Regions from separate parts of the Homo sapiens genome. Here all the other regions are linked to region 3. Evidence: promoter capture Hi-C in 16 types of primary human blood cells and fetal thymus (Javierre and others, 2016). All regions are on one chromosome and are shown on one strand. Each heading gives the region's core, a stretch centred on a gene start or on the middle of the fragment in contact. The rest is flanking DNA. Distances are from core to core; before and after follow the strand shown. Region 1 overlaps ATXN7L1 (ataxin 7 like 1). Region 2 overlaps ATXN7L1 (ataxin 7 like 1). Region 3 holds the start of ATXN7L1 (ataxin 7 like 1).

Region 1 (4,863 bases), core at 59-2,558, 230 kb before region 3:
GCAGCGTTATTCACAATAGCCAAAGGTGGAGGCAGCCCAAGTGTCCATCAATGGATGAATGGATAAGCAAAATGTAGCATCATTCAGCTTTAAAAAGGAAGGAAATTCTGACACGGGCAGGAGCCTTGAAGACATTATGTTAAGTGAAATAAGCCTGTCACAAAAGACAAATACTGTATAATTCCACTTATATGAGGTACCTGGAGTAGTCAAATTCATAGAGACAGAAAGCAGAGCAGTGGTTGCCAGGGGATGGGGAAGGGAGAATGGGCAGTTTTTTTTAATGCCCGTTGAACAACTGTATAGAGTTTCAGTTTTGCAAGATGGAAAAAAAAGTTCTGGAGATTGGTTGCACAACAGTGTGAATGTACTTAATACTACTGAAATGTACATTAAAAACGGTTAATATGGTAAATTTTATGTTATGCTTATTTTACCACAATTAAAAATGTTTTACATGTACAAACTAAAAAAAAATGCAAATTACAAAACTCTTACAACCTAAATTATACTTCAATAAACCTGACTTTAAAAATACAGATCAGAGGCTGGGCTCAGTGGCTCACACCTGTAATCCCAGCACTTTGGGAGGCTGAGGCGGGTGGATCACCTGAGGTCAGGAGTTCAAGAGCAGCCTGGCCAACATGGTGAAACCCCGTCTCTACTAAAAATACAGAAATTGGCCACACGTGGTGGCTCACGCCTGTAATCCCAGCACTTTGGGAGGCCGAGGCAGGTGGATCACCAGGTCAGGAGATCAAGACCATCCTGGCTAACATGGTGAAACCCTGTCTCTGCTAAAAATCCAAAAAAAAAAAAAAAAAGAAAAATTAGCCAGGCGTGGCAGCGGGCGCCTGTAGTCCCAGCTACTCCAGAGGCTGAGGCAGGAGAATGGCGTGAACCCAGGAGGCAGAGCTTACAGTGAGCCGAGATAGTGCCACTGCACTCCAGCCTGGGAGACAGAGTGAGACGCCACCACAAACAAACAAACAAACAAACAAACAAACAAACAAACAAACAGAAATTAGCCAGGGGTGGTGGTGCATGCCTGTAATCCCAGCTACTCAGGAGGCTAAGGTGGGAGAATCACTTGAACCCAGGAGGCAGAGGTTGCAGTGCACTGAGATCATGCCACTGTACTCCCACCCGGGCGACAGAGCGAGTCTCTGTCTCAAAAAAAAAAAAAAAGTGTCAGTGGCCAGTTGTGGTGGCTCATGCCTATAATCCTAGCTCTTTGGGAGGCTGAGGTGGGAGGATTGCTTGAGCCTAGGAGTTTGAGACCAGCCCGGGCAACATAGCGAGACCATTCTCTACAAAATAGAAATAAAAATTAGCCAGGCATGGTGGCATGTGCCTGTAGTCCTAGTTACTTGGGAGGCTGCAGGTGGATCGCTTGAGCTCAAGAGTTTGAGGTTACAGTGAGCTAGGATCATGCTATTGCACAGAGCAAGACCCTGTCTCAACTCCCCCCTGACCCCACTGGCACCCCCCAAACCCAAACATATTGGCCAGGTATGGTGGCTCATGTCTGTAGTCCTAGGATTTTGGGGGGCCAGGGTGAGAGGATTGCTTGAGGCCAGGTGTTTTTTTGTTTTGTTTTGTTTTTGAGACAGTGTCTCTGTCACCCAGGTTGGAGTGCAGTGGCACAATCTCGGCTCACTGCAACCTCGGCCTCTTGGGTTCAAGTGATTCTCCTGTCTCAGCCTCCCAAGTAACTGGGATTATAGGCACCCGCCACCACACTTGGCTAATTTTTGTACTTTTAGTAGAGATGGGGTTTCACCATGTTGGCCAGGCTGGTCTCAAACTCGTGACCTCAGGTGATCTGCCTGCCTCAGCCTCTAAAAGTGCTGGGATTACAGGCATGAGCCACTGCTCCCAGCCGAGGCCAGGTATTTGAGACCAGCCTGGACAACACCGTGAGACCATGTCTCTACAAAAAAAAAAAAAAAAATTATAAATAAGCTGGGCACGTTGGTGGACACACACAGTACCAGCTACATGAGAGGCTGAGGTAGGAGAGTCACTTGAACCCAGGAGTTTGGGGCTGCAGAGAGCTAGGATTGTGCCACTGTACTCCAGCTTGGGTGACACAGTGAGACCCTGTCTTGGAAAAAAAAAAAATTAGAAGAATCTGTTCTGTTCAAAAAGATTTATTGATTTAATTTCTCACCCTTGTTCTGATCTGTTGACTTTTATTTCTTTAGGGAAAAAAATCAAACTTCAAGTGTTGATATGAACACATGGACAGCTAGCAAGAAGAGAAGGTGCTCTAGTACCTGGGCAGCCTTCTCTGATGTATTAATATTTCTTTGTGAAGCCAAGTTAGTTCAGGAAAGGAAATTAGAACTTGCAAGTTCCAGATCTAGTTCTTGTTGCATGAGCTGGTACGAGTTAACATAACGCCTCTAGTTTCTGTGAAAAATGCCCTATGTAGATGTTAGGTCCTCAGGCCTTCAGCAGACAAAGATATGATGCCTGGGATAGAATAATCCAGAGCAATTGTACAAATGGAAATACATTTAAAAAACCGGCTGGGTACGGTGACTCACGCCAGTAATCCCAGCACTTTGGGAGGCTGAGGCGAGTGGATCACCTGAGGTCAGGAGTTCAAGACCAGCCTGACCAACATGGTGATACCCCGTCTCTACTAAAAATACAAAATTAGCCGGGCGCGGTGGCACATGCCTGTAATCCCAGCTATTTGGGAGGCTGAGGCAGGAGAATCGCTTATACCTGGGAGACGGAGGTTGCAGTGAGCTGAGATGGCGCCATTGCACTCCAGCTTGGCAACAGAGCGAGACTCCGTCTCAAAAACAAACAAACAGCAAAAACAAGCCAAGCAGCCCTCAAATGCTCATAGCACAGTCTGCATTACTCCTCTAAAGTCAACGTCAGGCTCTGAATGTGCTCCTTAAGGCAGCCCCACGAGCACAGGTGCACCAGGTCCCAACATTTGGAACCGTGCCAGTTGACTCATCTCTTTGGTGACACTTCTTCCCAACTGTGTGTAACTGAGCTTGGGCCAGGCCAGCTAATGTCTGTGACTGTCTCCTAATTTGGAATTTTTTCTGCTTTATAATGAGTGTGGCCCAATCATACTCTACTGTCAATGATTCCAGAACTCAGCTGGATGCGAAATTGGAGCCCATCAGAAACAGGAAAGACAGCCTCACGTGCAGTCCTCTGGATTGAAGAATGGGAAGCATTGGGGAAAAAAGTCTGATCAAGAATGTTTCAAAGATTTCAAAGACCAGGTGAGTTGGTAAGGGGCTGGGCCACTGAGTGAACACCTCTGATGTGAGGTAAAAGGACTTGGCAGAAGGAGAGAAGGGAGACTGCGCTCTTTTGGGTGTGTTCTAAGGGTGTTCATTAGCTAATGGAGAAGGGCTTAGAAGAGTGAAGGAGAAGAACCTAGAGCTGTCCCTGATACTTTTTTCTTTGGTGTCCCTTCTCTCCCTCAAAAGCTTTGGGCTTTCTCTCTAAGGGAACCTGCCTTGGCCTGGACTGAGAAGACACAGAAGCAGGCAGCTGAGTGATGGTGGGAAAGGCATTTGACCTTGCCATCCTCTTCCCCAGTATACACGCTAGCCATCGGGCCAGCCTTTCTTTACTACAGCTGGCAACAGCCCCAAAGTCCTGAACTGAGAAAGCAAAGGAGGAAACGGTCACAGGATAGTGCCACAGAATCTGGAAAGCCAATCCCAGAGATGATGCTTTTTGAGCAAAAACATTCAGCTGACATAAGAGCCTATTAAGAGCCCCACCCCCCACCTCCCATACACACAGATCCCGCGTGTGCCTATGCTGCAGCCACAGTGCAGTCACAGGGAAGCCAGTGTCTCGGAATTGTCCTCTGCTTCCTCTCACTGGCCCCGTGTGCATCCCCCTCACTTCCTCTGCTGTCACCTTCCCCAGCCAGGAAAGTGTCCCAGCCTTGGGCACGCCCCTTCCAGATGGCTGTGGACCCTGAATGACAGGTTGGACTTTTTTTTCCATTTGGAAAGAATCCAAAAGGTTCTAACCCCTGCTTTCACAGTATGGGCATCTCCCATCTTCTTTGTGTCTAATCACAGTAACGCAAACACCTCCATGTGCAGGTGGTGAGACCTGGGAGGGGGTGGTGAGTTGGCAATAGCCTGATGGGTGACTCAGCAATTTATTACACTGTTTGCTTAGGTGACAAACAAGCCTGGCAGTTACCCCCGAGCTTAGCCAAAGCCCTTCAAAGTTCCTTTCCCTTCAGTCTAAAGGATGCATGTGCACACTTCCCAAAGTCGCACAATTAGTTGCATTTATCAACTCACGATTGTCCTTTCTTTGTGGAGCAGTGTTTGAAAGGGAAAGATGAGTCTCCACTCTTCCCCTGCTGCTTTCATAATGCCTGTTTTGTTCACTTGGGATGAACTCTTTCAGAGAGCTCAGGGCTGCAGCCTGTTCCCCTGCTGTGTCTAATATGCTGGGAGTAGTTCTCTCCTCATCATCTCTGTACCTCTGTCTCGGTCCTGGGAAAGAAACCCAATGCCGAGAACACCCTCCCTCATCCCCCTTGCTACGTGGGGGCGATATCTACCTCTGTTTCTTTTGTGCTGCTTTAGTTGCCCACGTCTTCTTCCTTTGTGCTTGGCCTGTCTGAATTTATCTTTCTAGATCAAGGCGGGTCCTCTGGCTTTAAGAAACATGGTTCTCTTGGCATCAAGTAGATTCCCCTCCCTGCCCAGTGATGTCTGCAAAAGAACAGAGGTGGAGACTCATGACGGTGCCATTGCAAGAGCCACCAATGTGCCGCAGGGCCAGCTGCCCACCTGCCAGCTACGCTTTCCTGGTGATCATGATCTATATTCTTTGATTATCAACAGAAAT
Region 2 (4,884 bases), core at 1,259-3,758, 130 kb before region 3:
AGAAGAACCTATATTTTAACAAGATCCTCAGGTGAGTTGCATGTACCCTAAAGTTTGAGAAGCACGCCCAGAAGGCCAGACATTCAGGCCCACCTCCATAGACTGTGGCTTAGTTGGTTTGGGGTGGGGCTAGCCAGGGCAACCACATTTTCAAAAACTTTTACAGTTAATTTTACCTTGCAGTCTGGGCCAGAACCACTGCCTTGCTCTTCTCTAGAAACTGGTGGAGTGAAAAGATGGAGGAGGGCAAGGGATGGAGAATCCCACTTCTGTCACTAATGAGCTATGTGACCTTGGGCATGTCATTCAATATCAAATGAAGAAAGTAGATTAGATCAGAGGTTCATGAAACTCAGAATCAGAAAATACACATTCCTGGATCAAGTGAATTATAATTCCCAGCACTGGGCCTGAGGAATCAGCGTTTTCAACAAGTTCCCTAGGGATCCTTGTGTAGCCGCCTGGCCCTGGTATTGGGGATCAGTCGGCAACATGACCTCTAGGTCTTTTCCTCTACTATTCCATGATCTTAGAGAAGGAGAATTTTGCCCCAGGTTCTAAAAGCAATGATAAATATGTGTTGGTATAGGTTCAAACATTTCATTTAAACATTCAACAGTTCAAACATTTTTGACTGCACTGGAACCTGCTGTAAGAAATATAAGTACTTTTCATGAAGACTATATACTGTATATATAGCTCCACACCTTTCCCTTACTGTGATCCACTCTGTTTCCTTCTTTTATTTTCAAATGTACCACTCTGCTGATTTCATGATACACTAGTGGGTTGAGATAATTTGTAAAACCTGGTGCAGACAATCTCTGAATCAAGAACAAAGTCAGGGCCAGAAAGCCAGAATCTGTGTCACCTAGCAGAGGCCAGACAGCACCATGCTGACCTGTCCAACCCATAAGGAACCCAAGGGGCAGCTGATCACAACATGTGAAACTACAACAAAGGGACACTGGTTGGGAAAGCTGGAAAGGAGAAGAGAGGTTAGTGGAAGGCTCAAGACTCCAGGCTGAGGAGTTTAGTGACGATCACAGAGGCAATGTGCACTCTCTGGGGCTTCCAGAACAGGCAAGATCCACAAAGCATTTACAGCAGTGGTTCTCAACACTAGAAATACATCAAATTGCTTGGAAAGCACTCACAAAATACCAGTATCCACTCCCAGAGATGCTAAACCGCTAACCCAAAGTTCTCCCAAGTGAATGGACTATGTAGCTGGGATGGAAAAACCACTGATCCAAGAGTTAGTTAAAGAGGCAGGGTGACGTAACACAAGAAATGTGGGCTTTGGGGTCTCTTAATTTCTCTGAAGTTTCCTGTGGATGAAATGGGCATAACAACATCCACCTTAGCAGCTTGTTGTGAGGATTAGAGAGGAAGTTACATACACACAGCAGCTGCTCAGTCAAAGGTGGCTCCATTCATTTTTTTTTTTTTTTAATGGAGTCTCACTCTGTCGCCCAGGCTGGAGTGCGGTGGTGCGATCTTGGCTCACTGGAAGCTCCGCCTCCCGGGTTCAAGCCATTCTCCTGCCTCAGCCTCCTGAGTAGCTGGGACTACAGGCGCCCGCCACCACGCCTGGCTAATTTTTTGTATTTTTAGTAGAGATGGGTTTTCACCATGTTAGCCAGGATGGTCTCGATCTCCTGACCTCGTGATCTGCCCGCCTCGGCCTCCCAAAGTGCTGGGATTACACGCGTGAGCCACCGCACCCGGCGGTTGCTCCATTCTTAAGCCTTCCTCAGGACCAGTGAGAACCCTAAGCCCCAGAAAGGCAGGTCCAAGTTCACGCGGCTGGGCTGCAGCAGAGTGGGGATGTGCGGAGGCTCAGCTCTAGATGTGAATTCTTTGGCACTGTGGGCCTCCTCTCAGGACAGAACAGAGCTCAGGGAGGGTCTTGTGTATCAGGCTCATCTAAATCCAACTCAAATGACCTCAAATGGCCATTTCTCTCCTTCCCCCACTGAACTTCTGTCAGAGCACTGGGCCAACAGAGAGTCTGTCACACAAAATAAAGCCTTAGTTTTCTTTACCCAATAACCAGGTCATATCCTCTCCCTAAACATTATACAAGCTTGCCTTTCAACAGGATAGTGTTTGATTTTGACACATTTGAGCTTGACGTTCTTTTCTCATAGAAGTATCAGTACGATGCCTCCGTGGTGAAAATGCAGTCGAAGAATGATTTTTCAGCCCGTGTGGAAGGTGAGTGGGATGGGAAGAGAGGGGTGATGGATCGGCCAGCTGGAAGGCAGTGTCAGCAATTCAGACATGGGTGGAGGAATTGTGAGTTTTATGGGTTCTCTCCCTAAAAGATGTTGAAGTCCTAAACACTAGCACCTGTGAACGTGACCTTATTTGGAAATAGAGTCTTTGCAAATGACCAAATTAAGACAAGGTCATGAGGGTGGGCCCTAATGTAATCTGACTGTGTCATTACAGAGGGAACTCTGGACATAGAGAGTGACATGCACAGCGAGAGCACCTGGTGAAGATGAAAGCTGAGATGGGGGTGAGGCATCTACAAGCCAAGGAATGCCCAAGCCTTCCAGCAAACCACCAGAAGCCAGGAGAGAGGCAGGGAGCAGATTCTCTCTCGCAGCCCTCAGAAGGGACCAATCCTGCTGACATGTTGATCTTGGACTTCCTGCCTCCAGAACTGTGAGATACATTTCTGTCACTTAAGATATCCAGATTGTGGCACTTTGTTATGGTAGCCCTCGCAAACTAATGCAGTGGTGTCAGATCCTTGTTCAAAGGACACATTGTCACGAACAGAGGCAAAGAGCCCCAACTGTCTCCTTTCAAGAGCTAGAACTTCAGAAGAGTAAGCATGCTCTGTCCTACAGGTGACTCTTAACCCGCAGTTGAGATGCCTGGCTTTATCTTCTGCAGAGATCTAGCCTTGAAATAAAGCTTGTGATCTAATTTCAAGACTACCAGCCTTTTTGTTGGTGTTCTCAAATATGCCTGCATCGGAGCAATAACCAGTGGCAATTTTCATATGGACTCTCTCATCAGTACAATAGGCAATAACCCTTACCTCAAGCTTAACATATGTGAGGCATTTGCCTTTTGTACATGAATCCACCCAATTTTCACAACCACCCTATTATGTGTGTACTATGCTTATGCTCATTTTACAGAAGAGAAAACTGAGTGAGACACATAAAGGTAGAGTGAGACACACAGAGGTAGAGCAACTTTCCCAAGGCTGCACAACTAGAAATGTTGGAGCTGGGATGGGGATGCAGGCAATTTGGTTCCAGAGTCTGTGTCCTTCTACACTACAAAAATGGCTACCACATGCTGAGGGCTTACTCTGGGCAGGCACTTTCCAAACACTGACATTATTAATCCATTTTACACGCACAACCATTTAGCTAAGCTTGCAGACTGTTTATTTTCCATATTCATACTTCCAGGGAAGCTATTTTAATTTTAAACATAAGATGGCCAGCCATTACCCCCACTTCCCAAACACATACGCACAGCCTGGGCCCTCCTCCAAAACAGGTCACTGGCTGGGGATCCTATAGCTTCCCTTGACGAGTATCTTCCAGCATCCCACGATTCACCTCTCCCCCTCTCAACATGCTTATGCCCTCCCCAACTTCCAGTCCTTATCTCCCCAGCCAAAATCAGGAAGTGATTCTTTGTGGGCAGCCCAACCTCTGAAGGTCAAGCTCATTGCTTTTCAAATTAGAATTTGAAGGGTCTTTTCCTCTCCTGGTCAGAGATGAGTGGGAGCTGTCAGATCTGGCCTCCCAGCTTCTGTAATTGATTTATATTTTGGTATAAAATAACTCTTGATTTTACTGAGGGAGTCAGAGGAGGGGAAGAGGTACAGGGGATCCACACGGAGGCAAAGAACAGACAGAAAATAAAGGAGAAGAAGAAAAACCAAGAATGATTACATATCTGTGCCAAGAACTGGGGCCAGGTACTCAGCACATTGCTCCTATTGCCAACAGCTGAGAGCGGTTAGGCAGTGTGTGGCAGGAAGCTGGATTGGAACCCAGTACTCCTTCAGCTGCACCTGAGTAAGAGTCCCAGGGAGGCTGCCGGCTGGCTCACTGTCTCTGACAAGCAGCAAGTCTTCTTCAGGAGAATTCTCGGTTGCATAAGGAGGCAGTTTACAGGACTCTAACAATCACTGTCACCTCTGGAAAGTCAAGGAAGGGAGCTCTCCAAGGTTCCCTGTGCCACTCAGGGCGACACTGAGAAAGCAGATATGATCGCTTTAGAAGTCCGTGACTATGCTGAATGTTACATAGCTGCATTGCAGCAGCCTAGGAGGTGGCCACACTCATGTGGCCTTCTTGGACCTTCTGACCCACCAGCCATAAATGCTAACAATGCCAAATGCGGCACAGCTTCCTTTCAGAATCAGTCAGCAAGACACCCTGTGGTTCATGCTTCCCTCCAAATCTGCTTGCTAACTTATGAGGAAATAGATCTTTCCGCCTCAGTAACAACAAAATTGGTCTTTGCATCTGCGAAAATTATGCTCTAGATGACAGCAATCCTGAACATTAATCAAGTATCAATCACTGACATGAGTGGAAAATGGAGCTGGCGTCTTTATTTAAGTCTTGTTTTGAGCAAAGCAAAGCAAGGACTGATTGCGGAGAAAACCCTTTAATGGGTTTGAAACAGCACGTTGCAGCATGAGCTTGATGGCTGAGGTCTGGTTCAATGCCCAGTTCTCTCTCTAAATGGCTGTGCTCCTTGTGCCTCAGTTTTCCCATTTGTTAAAAAACAGAAACATCATCACCTCTCAAGTCACCAAAGGATTAAATGAGACAACACATCCCCACACAGAAACAATGATCTATTAGATATATTCAGAATAACCTGGGTCTGTGT
Region 3 (4,527 bases), core at 1,590-4,089:
CAAAGGACCTAATAAGCGGGATGTACCACCTGTGACTTCTGAGGAAAGGAGAGCTTTTCATTTTTTCTTAAAAGAATCCGTTTCTCAGCCAGGCACGGTGGCTCATGCCTGTAATTCCAGCACTTCGGGAGGCCAAGTGGGCAGATCACGAGGTCAAGAGATCAAGACCATCCTGGCCAACATGGTGAAACCCCGTCTCTACTAAAAATACAAAAATTAACTGGGTGTGGTGGCACGTGCCTGTAGTTCCAGCTATGCAGGAGGCTGAGGCAGGAGAATCGCTTGAACCCGGGAGGCGGAGGTTGCAGTGAGCCAAGATCGTACCACTGTACTCCAGCCTGGCGACAGAGTGAGAATCCGTATCAAAAAAAAAAAAAAAAAAAAAATCTGTTTCTCATGAGGCAAAGAGAATCTGAGAACAACAGTCTTCTGAAATAGAAACAGGGACTGGGGGGAAAGGATGTGAGTTTTGTGTGTGATAGTCATAACGCATCACCCAGACCTGAGAGGTGACAATCCTGTGCTATACCATGACCTTTACTCAACTTTAATTTAAAGATTTCCACAGCCTCATCATCTTTTATGGACACGTTGCCAGTAGCCTGATAACTGGGTCTTGCAAGCACTTAGAGATCTCAAGAGTTTGTGTGTGAAGAAAAATAATCTCTAGTGATGCTTCCCACTGCCAACACACATGAACATTTAACACAAATAAGCTGCCACTTGTAAGAAGTCCACTTGACATCAATCCCTCGTGCATCCTGAAGACACCTGTCAAGATCACACTAAGATATTTAGAAGCAAACATCTTTAGAATAATGTTTTGTTCCCAAAGTGCTTAATTAGCAGAAACATTATGCTAGGGAACTGTCCTTGAATATGTACGCATTTTAACCTTCATGTTATTTTTTCTGAAGCACAAAATTTCCTCTCAGTGGATGGTCAGGAAATGATTGGGCACAGAAAACCAACCATCTGAAGTGTTGATTCATAAAATGAGTTCCATCTTTCCACGCAGGCTTCAGCTGCCTTCCAGGGTGACATCCCTTTTTATGAGGGGGACCATTCTTTGGCATCTAATGGCCTTTTCTCCATTCATTTGGGATGACCAATGCACCTATGGCCTACTTATGTCTGAACTCTTTCAATACCACCAACCTCTTCTGTCCCCTTGTGCCATCTTCCCACCCCCAATTTCAGCCAATTATGTTTATAAGACATCAGTTAGTGAATCACAATTCAAATGAATCCACCTATTTGCTTAGCAGCAAGTGGCCCCCGGAGTTGCTCCATTTGAAGCCCATAGGCCAGAGTTACATACGGCAGGCTTGCAAATGAGAACAGGATATGATTTATTTATGACGACCATATGTGTTTGATGCCCAATTGCAGCAGGTTGTGGCTTCTCTTGCATATCTTGGTCTGGGATGACCTATCTACTCAGTGTGTCCCATTTCAGGTACCGTATTTCCATGCTGGGAAAAGAGAGATGATGACTGCTGAGGGGCTGCACATACAGATGCTCCTAACCCTGCTTGCCACATAACAATCTGTGACCAAATGCAAAGTGGGCCAAATGTAACTTGCTGCAAAGGTTTGCCATGTACAATGGTTTTCAGTGGTGAGTGGAGAAGTAGCTGCTGGAATGACTGACCATGTGGGGTTCATTAAGCTGTTGTGCATTCACCCACGAGAAAGGCTGGGATGCTTGTGAAGGGAACTCCACTCTTCATTTCAGAAATTTTAACGCCCCACCATTTGGCAATGATGCTCCCAAGGAGAATGGCAGATATGCATCAGAAGGTTCAAACGTGGAGTCCAACTGAAGTGCAGTAAACTTCTGCCTTCAACAGTCTCACCCCCCTTTACCCCCCCCCCAGTTGTATTTATACTTTGAAAGAAGTTAACATGAAGCAGTAGTCACCTGGGCGTGCTCAATTTTTGACAAGCCTTAGTCACTCTGTACCCAGCAGAACAATTCACATTATATTCGAAATCCTGTGAAGATTCTGCCACACATGCTAACACTAAAATGCCAGTAGCTCCACTTACCTTCTTTATTAAGCCTCATAACCTCCCTGCTTTTTCCACCCTCTTTTCCAGCCTCTTCTAAATCTACATCTGCAGATGAAAAAGAAAAGGAAAACAGAAAATAAGGAAAAAAGGGGGGAAAAAAGCCAAAGTCAAGGGGGGAGGGAGAGTGTTTATTTGCAAACAGATCGATATAAATACTGTATATGAAATTCTTTCAAAAATTGACAATGCAACATTTTCTCCCAAGTCTGGGTTTCCATCTACCTGGCCCAGATAGGTACCCAAAAAACTATGCAAGCAGCAACAAAGTAGCCTTTTAAACGGACAACACCGTGGGGCTGCGAGCCCACCCCGCGGGCTGCCACGGGGAGCCGGGCACAGACAGACAGACAGCCCTGGCAGCCGGGCCTCTCCCTGTGCATTGATGATCTGTCTCTGTGTGTATTTATTTAGAGAGAGAGGGAGAAGCATGGAGGACACCGGGGGCCACTCTCTCTCTCACACACACACTTTTTCCCAGTGGCTCTAGGTGAATGGAAAGGTTACAGGATAATAAAAGGAGGAGGAGGTGGTGGGGTTCTTACTGTCGGAGCAGTGTAATTTGGCGGCGTCGATCCAGGAGGACCAGGGTTTGCCCAGAAACGCCTCCGGACTGGGCACTTTGCGATCCAGTGTCGCCATTGCTCTTCCTTCTTGTTGCTTTTTCCCTGTTCCTTCGGCAGCAGCAGCCGAGAGACACGGGATTCGAGAACGCTCCGACGTCATCTTCGGAACGTTCCGACATTGAGTGTTCTGAAAGGGGGAGGGAGGGAGGAAGGGCGGGATGGGAGGAGGGCGGCGGAGGAGGAGGGGAGAGGGAGCGGAGGAGGGGCGGGCGCTCGGGCTCCCGGAGCCGGCTCGGTGGGGCTCGCGCGCCCGCGGCCGCCAGGGGCAGCAGAGAGGCACCTGCAGTCCGCGCCCGCCCGCCCGCCGGGGCCGCCCGCCTGCCGGGGAGGGGCAGCGCGGACGGGCGAGCGCCGCGTGCGGGAGAGCGAAGGCTGCAGCGCGCCCGGCAGCCGGGATGCAGCGGCGCCGCCCAAGCCTGGGGCGCAGGGGTCGGGGCACACGGGGATAGGCCCGACGCGGGGCCGAAGGAAGGGTGGTCTTTCCCGCAGAGTTGCCGCTGGAGGACCGAAAGTTTTGCAGGCAGCCCTTGCTTCCAGCTTGTCGCTCTCTCCCCGCGTCCCTGTCGCCCAACGCGAGGCGCCCCCGCTGGGGTCCCGACGGCTTGGTGGGGAGGAGCCGTGAGGGGTTGCGCCCCCCACCCCCACCCGAGCCAGGGAAGGGACCCTGGTGACCTCGCCTCCCAGCCCTCACCCCCGTCACCCCTTTCTTCTCTTTCCTGGAGGACTTTGGACCATGGAGATTCTGCAGTTGTTGCTCTAGGAGCTGAAACCAGTGGGTAGATGTCGTTCTGAAACGCAGGTGAGTTTGGAGCGCTACGAGCTACCTTCCCATCTCAGGCTGCGGGGCGTGCAAAACTCAAAAGTTAGGGCCCCCGGACCCCCGGGTTCCCCGCGCGGTGCGTATCTCCGGCTCTCAGAGAACCACTGCATGGACTTTGCTCCAGGGTCAGCAGAGCGGGAGGGCGAATTTACGGCTCTTGGAAGACGACGCTAACGGGCCTAGCCCCTGAGCCGTTTCCAGCGCTCCCTGCCGTGAGACGAGGGTGGCCCGGGTTTGCGCAGGCAACCTTTGGCCAGGAATCTGATTCCTGGGAGAATTCACTTCAGGCTTAACTGCTCTAGCCAGCTAGAAAGGGAGCGCTAGATTTCCTCTGGATTTTGGACGTTGGGTGCTTTAGTTGAGATTTTCACCCTTTAAAGAAGGCTTTAAAAAGTCTTCTGTTACTTCTTTTTAACAAATCCTTTTGTTTACTAGAATTATCTAAACTATATGGACACCGCCCTCACCCCACAAGCGACATATTTTTTTTTCTCTTTCGCCAGCACCCTTTTAGCTCTCACCACTGCTGTTTCCCAAGTTGTCACAGCTGAAGCGCACTGATTGGAAGTTGCTTTGTACTGACTGAGTTCTGCCCTGGCTGAACCATCTAATAATTTCCCTGAGCTTGGCACCCTGTATCGCTAAGCCAGTGTTAGGATGGGCGATGAAGGAGGAGCTGCGGATTTGCCTTTAGTTGTGATGTTTGTGTGAGTCGGCTTGTTTGTGTCAGACTCAGATAAACTGCATTTGCCTTTGCTCTCTTTCGAAGGGCTCCTACATAGCTAAGGTGTCGCTGGGTGAAGAATTCCCATTGTAAGAATTGGTGGTGTTAACAAATATGTATTACTTGTTGACCTCTTGTTATATGCTAGACCCTGGGCTTGACATTTCCTTCCTTCCTTCCTTCCTTCCATCTGTCCATCTTAAGTCAACCAATATTGCCTGTCATGGAACAGCTGTGCCCTCCTGTCAGGAGGGAAAGATGAGTGAGACCCATCCTCACCCTCA

The links. The method cuts DNA at HindIII sites, captures the fragments that hold promoters and counts their contacts. A CHiCAGO score of 5 or more calls a contact.
Region 1: a fragment that was not itself captured here is called in contact with the fragment with the promoter of ATXN7L1 in region 3 in 3 of 17 cell types (naive CD8 T cells, non-activated CD4 T cells and naive CD4 T cells); the score reaches 6.4 in naive CD8 T cells.
Region 2: a contact is called between a fragment that was not itself captured here and the fragment with the promoter of ATXN7L1 in region 3, in 1 of 17 cell types (non-activated CD4 T cells). The highest score is 6.5, in non-activated CD4 T cells.

What each region holds. Positions count from the first base shown.
Region 1 is chr7:105,644,834-105,649,696 of GRCh38, forward strand. The region is part of intron 4 of ATXN7L1 (ataxin 7 like 1); the gene reads right to left. Among named protein-coding and RNA genes, the nearest start is that of EFCAB10, 66 kb to the left of the region's middle. RefSeq lists a silencer at 3,122-3,338 and an enhancer at 3,349-4,548. The HindIII fragment of the contact is 4,314 bases long and covers 1-3,465 here.
Region 2 is chr7:105,739,331-105,744,214 of GRCh38, forward strand. The region is part of intron 3 of ATXN7L1 (ataxin 7 like 1); the gene reads right to left. Among named protein-coding and RNA genes, the nearest start is that of ATXN7L1, 130 kb to the right of the region's middle. The HindIII fragment of the contact is 842 bases long and covers 2,088-2,929 here.
Region 3 is chr7:105,873,760-105,878,286 of GRCh38, forward strand. It overlaps ATXN7L1 (ataxin 7 like 1), which reads right to left and starts at 2,840. Exons shown (of 12, transcript NM_020725.2): 1 at 2,619-2,840; 2 at 2,053-2,121. The coding sequence starts at 2,799. RefSeq lists a silencer at 2,883-3,092. The HindIII fragment of the contact is 13,815 bases long and covers 1-4,527 here.